5 separate regions of the Homo sapiens genome follow, and all the other regions are linked to region 3. The links are contacts of gene promoters, found by promoter capture Hi-C in blood cells and fetal thymus (Javierre and others, 2016). All regions are on one chromosome and are shown on one strand. The core of a region is centred on a gene start or on the middle of the fragment in contact, and the rest is flanking DNA. Distances in the headings are between cores, read along the strand shown. Region 1 overlaps MAPRE3 (microtubule associated protein RP/EB family member 3). Region 2 holds the start of TMEM214 (transmembrane protein 214). Region 3 holds the start of UCN (urocortin). Region 4 overlaps DPYSL5 (dihydropyrimidinase like 5). Region 5 overlaps MAPRE3 (microtubule associated protein RP/EB family member 3).

What was found. Contacts are between HindIII fragments. The CHiCAGO score rates a contact against its expected background, and 5 or more counts as called.
Region 1: a contact is called between a fragment that was not itself captured here and the fragment with the promoter of UCN in region 3, in 1 of 17 cell types (total B cells). The highest score is 5.2, in total B cells.
Region 2: the fragment with the promoter of TMEM214 here is called in contact with the fragment with the promoter of UCN in region 3 in 12 of 17 cell types (erythroblasts, total B cells, naive CD8 T cells and 9 more); the score reaches 8.5 in erythroblasts.
Region 4: a contact is called between a fragment that was not itself captured here and the fragment with the promoter of UCN in region 3, in 2 of 17 cell types (neutrophils and total B cells). The highest score is 6.3, in neutrophils.
Region 5: a contact is called between a fragment that was not itself captured here and the fragment with the promoter of UCN in region 3, in 7 of 17 cell types (total B cells, naive B cells, activated CD4 T cells and 4 more). The highest score is 9.2, in total B cells.

The regions. Positions count from the first base shown.
Region 1 is chr2:27,009,885-27,012,584 of GRCh38, reverse strand. The region is part of intron 1 of MAPRE3 (microtubule associated protein RP/EB family member 3); the gene reads right to left. The region is part of intron 1 of MAPRE3-AS1 (MAPRE3 antisense RNA 1); the gene reads left to right. Among named protein-coding and RNA genes, the nearest start is that of MAPRE3-AS1, 3.4 kb to the left of the region's middle. The HindIII fragment of the contact is 2,957 bases long and covers 1-2,700 here.
Region 2 is chr2:27,031,532-27,034,231 of GRCh38, reverse strand. TMEM214 (transmembrane protein 214) reads right to left here and starts at 1,267. Exons shown (of 17, transcript NM_017727.5): 1 at 1,066-1,267; 2 at 1-165. The coding sequence starts at 1,216. RefSeq lists an enhancer at 1,355-1,644. The HindIII fragment of the contact is 3,121 bases long and covers 492-2,700 here.
Region 3 is chr2:27,307,014-27,309,713 of GRCh38, reverse strand. UCN (urocortin) reads left to right here and starts at 1,269. Exons shown (of 2, transcript NM_003353.4): 1 at 1,269-1,554; 2 at 1,806-2,314. The coding sequence starts at 1,819. The coding sequence ends at 2,193. TRIM54 (tripartite motif containing 54) reads right to left here. Exons shown (of 9, transcript NM_187841.3): 9 at 2,279-2,700. It overlaps MPV17 (mitochondrial inner membrane protein MPV17), which reads left to right. Exons shown (of 8, transcript NM_002437.5): 8 at 1-222. The HindIII fragment of the contact is 26,108 bases long and covers 1-2,700 here.
Region 4 is chr2:26,936,910-26,939,609 of GRCh38, reverse strand. All of the region lies in intron 8 of DPYSL5 (dihydropyrimidinase like 5), which reads right to left. Among named protein-coding and RNA genes, the nearest start is that of MAPRE3, 32 kb to the left of the region's middle. The HindIII fragment of the contact is 2,654 bases long and covers 1-2,649 here.
Region 5 is chr2:26,981,950-26,984,649 of GRCh38, reverse strand. All of the region lies in intron 1 of MAPRE3 (microtubule associated protein RP/EB family member 3), which reads right to left. Among named protein-coding and RNA genes, the nearest start is that of MAPRE3, 13 kb to the right of the region's middle. RefSeq lists an enhancer at 2,004-2,063. The HindIII fragment of the contact is 170 bases long and covers 1,360-1,529 here.

The DNA.
Region 1 (2,700 bases), core at 28-2,527, 300 kb after region 3:
GGCCTGCAGATAGCTTCTCTCCTGCCCTACCATAGTGCCCGAAATTCCCACCAGAAATGCCACTCTTGTGGATTACAGCATCCAGCTCCAGAAAGCCTTTGAGTTGTTACCTCAATTTTGCTTTTGAGGAAATGAAGGATGAGGATTCCAGTGACTTTTCCAAGTTCAAGATCAACCACTGGCAAGATCAGAGCTGAACCTGGCCAAATGAACACAAATCCCATGCTCTTTCCACACCACCACACTGGTGCAGGAAGGACGATTTGATTTTTCACAGCTCTAGAGCAGGATGACTTGCCCAGATTTCACCCCTTGAGAATTAGGAGGAGGGAAAGGGAATTTCAGAGGATTTCTTCTTCTTCTTCTTTTTTTTTTTTTTGAGATGGAGTCTTGCTCTGTCACCCAGGCTGGAGTGCAGTGGCATGATCTCGGCTCACTGCAACCTCCACCTCCCAGGTTCAAGCAATTCTCCTGCCTCAGCCTCCCGAGTAGCTGGGATTACAGGCGTCCATCACCATGCTTGGCTAATTTTTGTATTCTTAGTAGAGATGGGGCCACCATATTGGCCAGGCTGGTCTCAAACTTTTTACCTTGTGATCTGCCTGCCTCGGCCTCCCAAAGTGTTGGGATTACAGGCATGAGCCACCATGCCTGGCCCAGTTTTCTTCTTTATACTTATTTTTTCAAGACATTGCAGCATTGCCTTAACCTCTCTCTTTCTTTTTTTTTTTTTTTTTTTGAGATGGAGTCTCGCTTTGTTGCCCAGGCTGGAGTACAATGGCATGATCTCAGCTCACTGCAACCTATACCTCCCTGGTTCAAGCAATCCTCCTGCCTCAGCCTCCCGAATAGCTGGGATTACAGGTGTGTGCCACCACACCCAGCTAATTTTTGTATTTTTAGTAGAGATGAGGTTTCACCGTATTGGCCAGGCTGGTCTTGAACTCCTGACCTCAAGTGATCCACCTGCCTCAGCCTCCCAAAGTGCTAGGATTACAGGCATGAGCCACCAGGTCCGGCCTAGCATTGCCTTAATCTCGACCAGCAAGTGCTTACTGACCACTGACAAAATGCTCAACACCCAGTGAGGCATCATGAGGACATGGGATCATTTCAAGGCATGGGTCTTGTCTTTATTAAGGAGCTTTTCTTTGGTTGAAGAGGTAAGAGTAATTTATAAAATAACAAGGGACGCCACAAAGCAGAATATATGAAGTGCTAAATAGTGAAAGCACCTTTGGCTTTTAAGTGTTCCAGGCACATGAAAAAGATGAGAGGGGGATCAGCAGTTAGAGGGTTTCTGGAGGAAGGTGGCACCTAATTGGGCCTTTAAAGATGACAGGATGCCAGAAAGCAGCGAGGAGAAAATGGGAAATTCTGGACATGGGAAACATATTTATTATTACTTTTATTTTAAAAAAAGAGCATAAGACCAATGACTCAGTCCTGGAGGAATGTTAGGGACGCGATGAAAATAGAGGAGGTGGAGAGAAGGTGATGTCTTAGGAGCCAAGGGAGGGCCCACTTTCAAAGAGGAGGTCATCTGCCCTGTTTAATGAAGCTACCAGACCAGAGGTGGCGATATGGTCATTAAATTGTGCAATAAGAAATGATGAAACTCTGAGTCATTTTGTTGGAGTATGGGGACAGCAGCTAGACCTGCAGATGATTGTGGAGTCCTTGATCACTTGCCCAGGAGGAAGCTGGAGAGGGACATCAGGCATTTGTCATCACAGCCATGTGTGTCTGCTGCAGCACTTCAGGTAGATAGTGAGTGACTGCCTGCAGGGTGGAGAGCATTTTGGTTCTTTCAGTTAAAATTTGAAATGAAATATAGATTGGGCCCGGGTGCTGTGGCTCATGCCTGTAATCCCAGCACTTTGGGAGGCCGAGACAGGTGGATCACCTGAGGTCAGGAGTTCGAGACCAGCCTGGCCAACATGGCAAAACCCCACCCCTACTAAAAATACAAAAATTAGCTGGGTATGGTGACACGCACCTGTAATCTCAGCTTCTTGGGAGGCTGAGATAGGATAATGGCTTGAACCCGGGAGGTGGAGGTTGCAGTGAGCCAATATCACACCACTGCACCCCAGCCTGGGCAACAAAGAGTGAAACTCCATCTCAAAAAAAAAAAAAAAAAAAGAAATACAGATTAAAAGTAGGCTTGTGCTCCTTATCTCAACATCTCACCCATCCCCCTTCAGACTCCATATCCTACCCTCAAGTTCTAGATTTTATCTGTCCAAGAAGACCCATGAGTGCGACTCACGATCTTTCTCCAGCTACTCACAACACTGTATCACAAATGAAAAGCAAGATAAGAAATGTGTTTATATAATAAAGTCTTAACTAAGTTGAATGTTTGGAAAATAATGTTGTACATATTGATTAACTTTGTTTAACTGTGGTTAATCAGAGCCCTTTTTAATGTTTGGTTTTGTGGAAAATTACTGTATTAAGGCAGGAAGAATAGACAAAATTGCTTTCTAAGGACATTGCAGAGCCTCAGATTCAATCAGTCACTCATCACCATTTGTGGAGTGTGTGCTTCAGCACCCAATGCTGTGTGCCAGCCCCTGTGCCAGCACAGGACCTATAGGAAGAAATGAACCCACTCTGGGCCCTCGAGAAATTAATGAACTTAGGTGAGAGCTGGACAACTGAACGAAATAACCAAAGGGCAACACATCATGCTCC
Region 2 (2,700 bases), core at 18-2,517, 280 kb after region 3:
CCTGCTTCTGGTTTTGGTTGGGAGGAGTTGCCACCTTCTTTGGCTGCTTCTTGTTCCCTGGTTTCTTAGGTTCCACAGCAGGGGGTGGGACCTGCTCCTTATTCTGCCGCTTCATGATATTCTCAAAGCCCCGCTCATAAAGGGTGCTTGTGGTCTGGATTGCAGCTGGGGTGAAGATAGGTAGAGAAAGGCAGGCCACCCTTGAGTCCCCAAGGCCTCACCTATCAGTGGTCCCTTTCCCCACACTGCCACCTAATTCATCTCCAGGGAAGAGCCTGTCTCAAAGCCCCTTCCTCTTGGACTGCTTAAGGAGCAGGGCAGGCTGTTCTCCTGGTAGCTTCTTTCATTACAGCTCTTGAGTCTATGGGCTCTTTCATAAAGATGGGGCAGTTCTTCATTAGACAAATCAGAGTATGTAGGAACAAGCAGAGAGGTTGGATATAGAGGTTTGCCTTATTCAGTGAGTGGCTACTAGTCTGGGAAGACAAGCTTTTTCCATCTTGGTCCTACCCTAACGCCTCTTGGTTCCGACATGACAACTCTATAATCAACAAGTGGCAATCTTTCTCCACTCCTCAGTGGAAGAACCAGGTGTCACTTATAATTCCTGGTGAGTGTTGAGTGTGTGGCGGTCATTTCTCCCACTGCTGGGCCTCCTGTCCCTTCCTCCATGACCTGCTGGTTACTTAAAGAGGGGGCACCGTGTATAATGATCCACAGTACCTCTTCAAAGCTCAGACACCTGCCCAGAGAGACCAGCTAGGGCCCTGGGCAGCTGGGAGAGTGTGTGCAGTGAACTGAGAGTCTGAGGACCGGAATCCTAGCCCCTCTGACACATGACCCTGGCCAAGGTATCCAACTTCACTGGGCCTCAGTTTACTCATCTGGGAGGTGAGGACCGCAACCTTCCCTGGAGCTGTCTGCCTCCCGTGAGGCTCCAAAGAGACAACGCAAGCGTGGCGCTCGGGGATGTGCCTGCGAGCTCGCGCCCAGGTTCTGGGAGCCGCTCGCTGCGACCCTGCCGGACAGGCCTGGGGTAGGCGGCGGGGCAGGGCGGGTACTCACGGGTCAGGTCGTATTTCCACACTCCGTTTGCTTCCCCGAGCGCCCTGCGGTTCCTGCCGCCTCCTCGGCCGCCGGCGCCGGCGCCGACCCCAGGCCGCCGACCCTTCTTCACTACCTCCCACCGCCCCACGCCCGCCGTCTTGGTCGCCATGGCTCGCAGCCCTCCCTCCTCGGCCACTTCCCCGGCTTTCCGGTCCGGCGCGAGCGCGCCGCACTCTGCCACGTCTCCTCGCAGGACCGCGCGCCCGGCGCCCGGCGCCCGCCGCAAGGCAGCCTGGGACTTGTAGTCCCTCTCCTGGGCCGGGCTCTCCTGAGCGAAGAGCATCGGGAAGAGGCTTCCGCGGCAGCCTGCGGCCCCCGCCCAGGCGAAGAGGCCGGGAGGAGAGGAGATTCCCTTCTGAGAACGTTCATTGAGCGTCGATGTGAAGGCCACGGCATTGAGAGACTTGGTAGAACTGTTTCTGTTTTTCTTTCCTTTATTGATCAATTGATTGATTGATTGCCAGGGCCGCGCTCTGTCGCCCAGACTGGAGTGCAGTAGCGCGATCTCAGCTCACTGTAACTTCCGCCACCCAGGTTCAAGCGACTCTCGTGCCTCAGCGTCCCGAGTAGCAGGGACTACAGGCTCCCGCTGCCAAGCCCAGCTAATTTTTGTATTTTTAGTAGAGACGGGGTTTCGCCATGTTGGCTAGGCTGGTCTCGAACTCCTGACCTAAAGTGACCCACCCCACCCCCACCCCTCAGCCTCCCAAAGTGCTGGGATTACAGGCGTGAGCCACGGCGCCCGGCCACTGTTTTTCTTTCCTTTCTCGTAGAGCTGGAAGGATGGAAGGGAAGTAGTGCTCCTCATATCTAGGGAGAGATTGAAGATTAAATGCTTCCTTCCTTCTAGGAAAGTGCTGGCTTTACTGTTGCTAGTGATTAAACCTCGGGTTTAATGGGCTATACAAATCTATTGCCAAAGAACAAGGAAGAGGATGGGGGCTTGAGGAAAGGGCAGAGTGTTGGGGAGCTGGGGTAGGAGGTGGAGAATGGAGAATAATTTTTTTTTTTTTTTTTGAGACAGGATCTTGCTTTGTCGCCCAGGCTGGAGTTCAGTGGCGCGATCACGACTCACTGCAGCCTCAACTTCTAGGGCTCAGGTGATCCCCCACCACGGATCACCTGACCCACCACCACCCCCGGCTAATCTTTGGTATTTTTTGTAGAGACTGGGTTTTGCTGTGTTGCCCAGGCTGATCTCAAACTCCTGGGCTCAGTGATCCACCCTCTTCAGCCTCCCAAAGTGCTGGGATTACAGGAGTGAGCCACCGCTCCTGGCCTCTGAGTTCTTCTCATGGGAGGCTGAGAAAAGTCTGGGGGTCTGGGACAGCCAGGGCCGGGTTTCCCCTTCCAGGCAATGAGAAAGAACAGGCTCTGCCTCCCACCATAAGAGTCAATCCCAAGTTCCAGATGTGTCAGGGAAGCGATGGAGAGCCCCAGACTTGAGGCATCTGCAGACAGGTTCCTGCTCAGACATCCACGTGGAGGGTGTTAGTATCCTGGGAGCCTTCAGAACCTTGAAGCATGCCAGCAGAGGAGAATGAGGGAAGATAAAATCAAAGTGACTTATCACAATTAAGGAAATGTGCTATT
Region 3 (2,700 bases), core at 20-2,519:
ATTCCCACCACATACTAGGCACTCCATAAATATCTGTTGAACCTTCATGACCTTATCAACTTTACACCCATATCCCAGCAAATGCCACTCATCCCCACTCTTCATAGACACATTTGTTACTCTAACCCTGCCTAGGCTTCTTGTAGCTCCAGCTCTTTAGAGACTCCCGGAACCCTTTATATGGTGCCTCAGTAAATATGTTATTAAATATGTAATCCGGAATCTGCAGTGGTAATGAGTAAGTTTTTAAGCAGAAAACTATTGGGGAGTCATTTCTAGAGCTGGAAAGAAGCCAAGAGACCACCAAGCCCAATTTTTTTTTTTTTTTTTTTTTTTTTTTTTGAGACAGGGTCTTGCTCTGTCTCCCAGGCTGGAGTGCAGTGGCGCGATCTTGCCTCACTGCAGCTTCCGCCTCCTGGGTTCAAGCAGTTCTCCTGCCTCAGCCTCCTGAGTAGCTGGGACCACAGGCGCATACCGCCACGCCCGGCTAATTTTTGTATTTTTAGTAGAGATGGGGTTTCGCCATATTGGCCAGGCTGGTTTCAAACTACTGACCTCGTGATCCGCCTGCCTCGGCCTCCCAAAGTGTTGGGATTACAGGCGTGAGCCACCGCGCCTGGCCAAGCCCAGTCTTACAAATGAGGACCCTGAGGTTGGTAGGAGGGAGGTGACCTGTCCACACCAGGAGTTAGCAGAAACTTGAACCCATATTTCTTTGCTGCTCATGGGCAGAGTTACACTGCTGCTATGATTCCCAGGAGAGAAACTGAACTTTGCTAAACTACTTTGGCAAACTCAAAAGCAGATGGGCCAGCCATTTGTGGTCTGAAAGCACTCGGATGCTAGAGACCCTCTGTTACATGGTGCCTGTCAGACAGCCCTACAATTTGGATCCTGGGGCTGGAAAAAGATAAGAATGCTGGGAGACTTTGGTTGTGGCAGACTGCCTCTCAGTGGGTCCCACTGTGTTGGCTGAGTGCCAGCGGTGGACTCCTGATGCCTGCATTTGCAGAACTGATAGCTGCAGGGAGGCAGTGGGTTCCAGCGGCACAGCGTTCTCACATTTCTGGCCACTTCTAGAGGCAGAGGACGGGGTCAGCACCATGGACAGCCTCACGGTCCCGCCTCCCTTTCGTGTGTCAGAACACGCGACCCGGACTAGTCTGGTCTGGGGACGGCCCTAGTCATTGCTGGCTGTTCTAAGCGGGGCGAGGGACTCCCGTGGGTCCCAGAGCAGTCTTTACGCCCCAGCCGGCTTCTCGCTTTCCTGCGTCCAGTGCTGCTTCCAGCGCTAGCCCCAGGGGCACGAAGGCTGGTGTAGGGAGGTGCGCCCCTCCGGGGGCCCGCCAGCCGTCAGACTCGAAGCTGTGGCTGTCATTGCTTCTACAATCAGTGCATGTTCTTCGCTGACGTCAGTCGGAGCTGTCCTGGCACTATATAAGGCTGGCGACAGCCCCGGGACAGACCCTGTGTTCCCCAAGGCGTCTTCAGCCTGCCCCGAGGGACAGAGACTGGAGCTCAATCTTGGACCGTACAGACGCTCGCCGACAACCTGTGAGTGGCTCAGAGCGTCCGCCCAGCCTCCCCCTGCACCAGGACTCCGCTCAGCTCAGCCACCACGCTCCTCCGGGGAGGGAGGCTGGGTGGAAGGGATGGAACAGCACTGGCGCAGTGGCTGGGGCTGGAGGGCAGGCTGCGGGCATTGGGCGGCGGCCGGAGGGGTCGCCGGGCGAGCGCGGGGAGGGGAGCGGCGGCCTGCAGCTGTCCCAGGCGCACCTCACCCTGCGCTGCCCCTGTGTGTCCAGGGCCGGCGGCACCATGAGGCAGGCGGGACGCGCAGCGCTGCTGGCCGCGCTGCTGCTCCTGGTACAGCTGTGCCCTGGGAGCAGCCAGAGGAGCCCCGAGGCGGCCGGGGTCCAGGACCCGAGTCTGCGCTGGAGCCCCGGGGCACGGAACCAGGGTGGCGGGGCCCGCGCGCTCCTCTTGCTGCTGGCGGAGCGCTTCCCGCGCCGCGCGGGGCCCGGCCGATTGGGACTCGGGACGGCAGGCGAGCGGCCGCGGCGGGACAACCCTTCTCTGTCCATTGACCTCACCTTTCACCTGCTGCGGACCCTGCTGGAGCTGGCGCGGACGCAGAGCCAGCGGGAGCGCGCCGAGCAGAACCGCATCATATTCGACTCGGTGGGCAAGTGATGGCCCGGTTTGGGGCTGCGAAAACGTTGACCCCTTTCCCCCACCCCAGAGTTGGGATGCGGGGCAGAGCCACCAGGGCACTGTCTGCGTGACTATTTTTTAATAAAAGTACTGAAGACCCGTTGGCTTTTGTCGTAGAGGCAGGGCAGTCACAGCAGCGTGGGAACCCGTGGGAAGGTGGGGCCCCCGGGCCAGCGGGAGGGGAACAAAATGCTGTGGGGGGCTCCGAGACAGCGGCTTTCAGCCAGGTCAGCCAGGTGCATGTGGACCCCAAGGGTCCCCAAATCCCCAGGACCTCAGAGGTCCCGGCACCACCGCCCCGCCCTCGGCCCTCTTCCCAGGGCGCTGGGCTCACCAGTTCGCTCCTGGCATCACAGAGGTGCCCAATAGGGGTTCATTTGGCTTCCGCCCCCCAGACGGTCTCAGGTTCTGGGAAGGGCAGGATGGTGGGCGGGTCGCCTTCGAAGCCCAGGCTGCGGGGTTGGGCAGCGAAAGGAGATACGGGTC
Region 4 (2,700 bases), core at 73-2,572, 370 kb after region 3:
GAATAACTTGGACTCATAGCCTTCCTTGGATGTGGGGATTCTAATGGCCCAGAAGGGGAAGGAGGGATGAGCTAGAAGCCTGACTTAATAGACCGAGAGTGGTATGCAAGCCACTCAGTTCTTCCCCAATGCCGTTCATGACTACGGTCCTCACACATATATTAAGGCTGTCCTCGGGCCAGGTGCTCATGCCTGTAATCCCAGCACTTTGGGAGGCCGAGGCAGGTGCATCACTGGAGGCCAGGAGTTCGAGATCAGCCTTGGCAACATGGTGAAACCCTGTCTCTACTAAAAATAGAAAAAAATTATCTGAGCGTAGTGGTGGGCGCCTGTAATCCCAGCTACTCTGGAGGCCGAGGTGAGAGAATTGCTTGAATCCAGGAGGCGGAGGCTGCAGTGAGCCAAGATAGCCCCAATGCACTCCAGCCTGGGGAACAGAGGGAGACTCTGTCTGAAAAGATGAAAAAAAAGCCATCCTCCATCCAAGGCTGTGGGTGGCTAAGGCACAGGCAGGCCCTCGAGGGGCTCCTGGGCCAAAGAAGACGTAGGGAAGAACAGGGAGAGAGGGCTCATGGCAGCAGATCCTCTGCCCAATGAGGGAGGCAGGCAGGTGGCCTGGATTCAGAGATCTCTGCAGGCCAAGGGCTCAGAGGCAGTGAGGGGCGGAGGAGAGAGAATGCCCACGCAAACCAGGTCAGGGCCTCAAGAGGAAATGGCTTTGCGGGGCCAGAGAAAGGCCTGGCTGGAGCAGGGGAGTCAGGTGGGGGAGGGGATGACTGCTGGGACCACACTGTGGGTGCCCTGAAGGTCAGGGGCAGGGGTCCCATTGTACTCTGTAAGAGGCCCCAGAGCCTTGTGAGTGCCTGTGGGCCATCTAAGATGCCCACTCCAGGAGACTGTGGGGGCAGAAAGCATTATCTGACCTGGTGAGGAAGCATATTCTTAAGGCTCTCAGATGATGGCCAGTTAGCTCCATAGGGCTGTCTCCACGGGGGACCTGGCAGGGCTTATCAGTCTCAGCTCCTGCCCAGTGACTAATGTCTTTGGCCAAACCCGTGGTGAAGATGCATCGCTCTTCCTGTGCGGTAGGCTGGGCCTTCTCTGGGCCAAAGAGGCTGCTCTGGCCCTTGCAGAGACTCTTTGCAAGAGATTCTCCCGCAGAGCCCCAAGGCTCCCCACACTCTCTGGACCTGCAGAAGCCCTGATAGATGAATGGAATCTTTAGGGTTTCCTTTCTCCTGAGGGGCCCTCTGGATACCTGAGCAGGGCTCAGGGCAGAAGATGCCCACTGCAGTCATGAAGGGCAGGTCAGGGACCCTGAGAGCAACAGGCTCAACTCCTGCTCTTTAACCAGCAAGTCTTCCTGAGCACCCAGCTTTCTGAAAAGGCTCCTACACAAAGGTACCCACTAAGCAGCTGTGAATGACGGTAGTTACATTCTAGGAGGCCCTCTGAGCTCTCTCAGTGCTGCCCTGAATCTGGGAGGTAGGAAGCCCCCATCCAAACCATTTAAAGTTTAAAACATGACTGGCTTTGCTAAGCACTGTAACATTTTATATGATCAAATGAAAAAATTTCTTGTCCCTTTAAGAAACCAGATTTTAGGCCAGGTGCAGTGGCTCACATCTGTAATCCCAGCATTTTGGGAGGCCGAGGCGGGTGGATCAGTTGAGGTCAGGAGTTTGAGGCCAGCATGGGCAACATGATGAAAAAATACAAAAAATACAAAAATTAGGCTGGGCACGGTGGTGCAGGGTGGCTCACGCCTGTAACCCCAGCACTTTGGGAGGCTGCACTCCAGCCTGGGAGACAGAGTGAGACCCTGGCTCAACAAACAAACAAACAAACAAACAAACAAACAAACAAAAAACTAGCCAGGCATGGTGGTGCACACGTGTAGCCCCAGCTACTCAGGAGGTTGTACCACTGCATTCCAGCCTGAGTGACAGAGCCAGACCCTGTCTGAAAAAAAAAAACAAGCCAGAATAAAGCATAAATAGTTATATCTATAGATTGTACTTTTTTATTCCTGCAGGGCCTAACAAATCACAAATCATACCCTAAAGTAGATAATTAGGAAACAGCTCATATTTTCTTATAGGAATAATAATTGGTGTCTGAATTTTCTATCAAGTATCTTGCATCATATAAATTATAACCAATAATGTGTTACAAAAGCAAAATTATAGTCATCATAAATTTCTATAAATATTAAAATATTAAAATTATGCTCCAAATCCTATAAAGTAGCACCCATTTACAATATGCACTGATTAAAAAGGGATTAAAAAGGGATTCAGACTATTATCATAACACAAAAAGTACATTTCTACTTAAATAAATAGAATTAATTTAAATAATTAAAATACATTTGACAAAGTAAGCTAGATATAAAAACTTAAATTATTCAATGATACTTATTCCAGTCTATTTGAATTTGTGTGGGTTTGGGCGCTGTAATTTGGGTGGGTTGAAGCACTTATTATCTTTTTTGTTCTTTCAGTAAATTTGCTTGTAGCAAGCAGGGGTGTTTCAAAAGATTCTTGACCTTGGAACCAAGCCCACATTATTATAGTGGAGTCTTGGTAATTGTTTCTTTTATTGTATTGCTGATGATGAAAAGGAGGTTGATTCTTCTCAAAACAAGCTTTTTTTTTTTTTTTTAAATGAAGTCTTGCTCTTGTTGCCCACGCTGGAGTG
Region 5 (2,700 bases), core at 195-2,694, 330 kb after region 3:
GAGCTAGAAGAAAGTCTTGAAGCTGCATATGCAGAAGAAGGACACATTTGTATTTGGAGCATATGTTTCCTTGGGGCAGCTTTCAGGAAGAGGGCAGTGCTAAAGCCCACCCAAACCACCCCCTGGTGCCACTGCTGTCTGAGTGGTAGAATTAAAAGTAGTTCTAATTTTCTCACTTACTCTTTACTATCTTTTCCAATTTTTCTACAAATGAAAAATAGTTAGATTCCATGTTTAAAAAAAATAATATGTTAGTATGTGTGTAGAAAAAAGTTGGAATATTCAACAAAATAGTGGCAGTGATTCTCTTTGGGGGACAGAGTTATGGAGGACTTCTACTTTTTGCATTGTGCATTTCTGCAATGTTTTAATTCATAAATATTTAATTCTAAAAGCAATTTTGAATTATATTTGTCATCCAGCAAGGGGTTTTTGATTATGACTATACACTAAAGGCATTAAACACATAACACTCTTACAAGTTTCTCTGAAAATATGGGCAAGGTCGTAATGATTTTGAGAATAATATATAAATATATTTAAATTCATGGGAAAGCTAATGCATGGACACAAACATTATTAGGGTGAGGGTGAGACAAGTGATGCAAAAATTCTCGAGTGTTCTTCAGAGGAATAACTGTGGACTTGGCAGTCATCTGAGGAAGTTCTTTCCAAACCTCACATCCCCAACAAGGGGAAGGGACGGGGTGAGGGGCAGCTGCTACCCAGGGACACCTGGAGTCAAAGGCTTCTCAGTTGTTTCTCTTTGCTTGCCTTGGGCCTTCAATGGGTATCTTGGGAAGCTTCTTAAGGAAGCTGACAGGCAGCCTCTTTGGAATTAGAAAAGGCTGTCAATTCCAGAAAACCAAGCTGAAAGGAATATATAAGATCTTTTAGCTAACAGCTCTGGGAGCTTTAAAACAACTAGTTATTTCCTAATGCCTCCCAAAGAGGTCATCTGCTCTAGGTGGCAAGCAACATAATTTCCACAGAACAGCTAGATACTGGGAGAACCATCTGAGTTCAAATGATGAATTTTAAAGATAAAGGTACAAATGGGATCTTCTTAAGTACCCTTGACAGGGCCTGCATTATCACTGAGTTCTCAATACCCTTCGAGAGGGCCTCAGAGGCATGAGTCCTCTTGTGTTATGACCTCCTAACACATCCTGGGACAGCCACGAGGCCAGAGCAGTGCCTTGCTGGGTCCTGAAAAATCAAGCCTTCCAGGCCAGGAGAAGTTCAATCAGAGGCTTGCATGTCTGAGAAGCCACAGGGGAAGCAGAGCAGTACTTGGGGAGAGTTGCTAGGCAGGGTTGGGGGTGCTGCATGGAGAAAAGGAGTTCTGGAGCCTAAGCTTGGAACCCAGTGGGCTCCTGGAAGATCTAGTCATCCATACCTAGGAGAGTGGGAAATGCACCCTTCGGAAAGGCTCCACTACACATTTGATTTTTAATTTATGCAAGCACAGATTATGTGGTGGGTTCCGTCTCTGAATGTCTATCTCTGTCTCTGTCTTACTGGAAGCTTAACTCTGCCCAAGTGAGGCTTTATTGAACAGGATAGTGGTAGCGGTAGTGGGATCTTCCTCTCATGTCTTTCCATTTCCCTCTGACAGGAGCTGGGTTGGGCCTTCCTAATTTTCAATGCTACTCCAAATCTTGAGAGTCTCTGAGTTTTGACTTTGAGAAGTCCAAAACATTGCTTTTGCTGGCACTCTTGTCCATTAGGGACAAATGTGAGGGCTTTTTCGTTAGTTACTATGGTCACTATATACTCACTCCTAGGTACCATTTCATAGCATTAAGGATGGACAGCAACAAATATGCCTTAGAAATCCATTCATTCTGCAATTATTTGTTGAGCCCCAGATACTGCTAGGTCTCACATGGTCCCTGCCTCATGAAGCTAGTTATCTAGTGAAATGGATAAACAGTAGTAAAATAATCATTCTACCTAATTATAGGCCAAGGGCTAATTATTCTCAGGTAGGCTGACTAGGTGGAAAGAGAAAAGAACAGTGGCAGGAGGCTGTGTTTATAGAGAGTCCATTTAATTCCACAGGCAACACAATGCACTTTTGCTCCTGCCCCACCTGGCTTGAGGCCTGTACTGCAAGCTGTTTGTTCCTTCCTGGTAGGGACTGGCAGGGAGCCATACTTCTGCTTAGGTCCTGGCTTTCATGAAACGGGACTACAAAATGTCCAGGCAAGGTAATGTCAGTGTAAGGCCCTGGAAAGAAAGCAGCCCTAGCTTTTCCGTTTCCACAGGTTGACTCCTGCACCTGACTTTCCACATATTCCCACCTAGTTAAGTCCCCTGCTATCAGCCCCTGTGGCTGCTTTGCATGGTGAGCTGTGTAAATGGCTTCAGTTGTGCAGCATGAAAGTAATGTGAATCCAGCAGGTGGAATAAAGACCACAACCCAGGGTGTTAGACAGGGTCAGAGTCAAAGTGAATGATCTAGGAGGACATGAGAAAGAGAGGGGTCAGAGGAGGAAAGGACTTTAGGCCAAGTTTCATAATAGGCAAGAGAGAAACAGGGCTGTTATAAACAGTTGTACACTTTGTACACTGCACAAAGCACCTTGTGGAGGAGATGAGGGCTGGAACCCTCACAAAATGAGTAGAACCCAAGCTCCACTCACAAAACTGCATTCCTAGCAAGGGACTCTATCTGTCTGGAGGAAGAACCTTCAC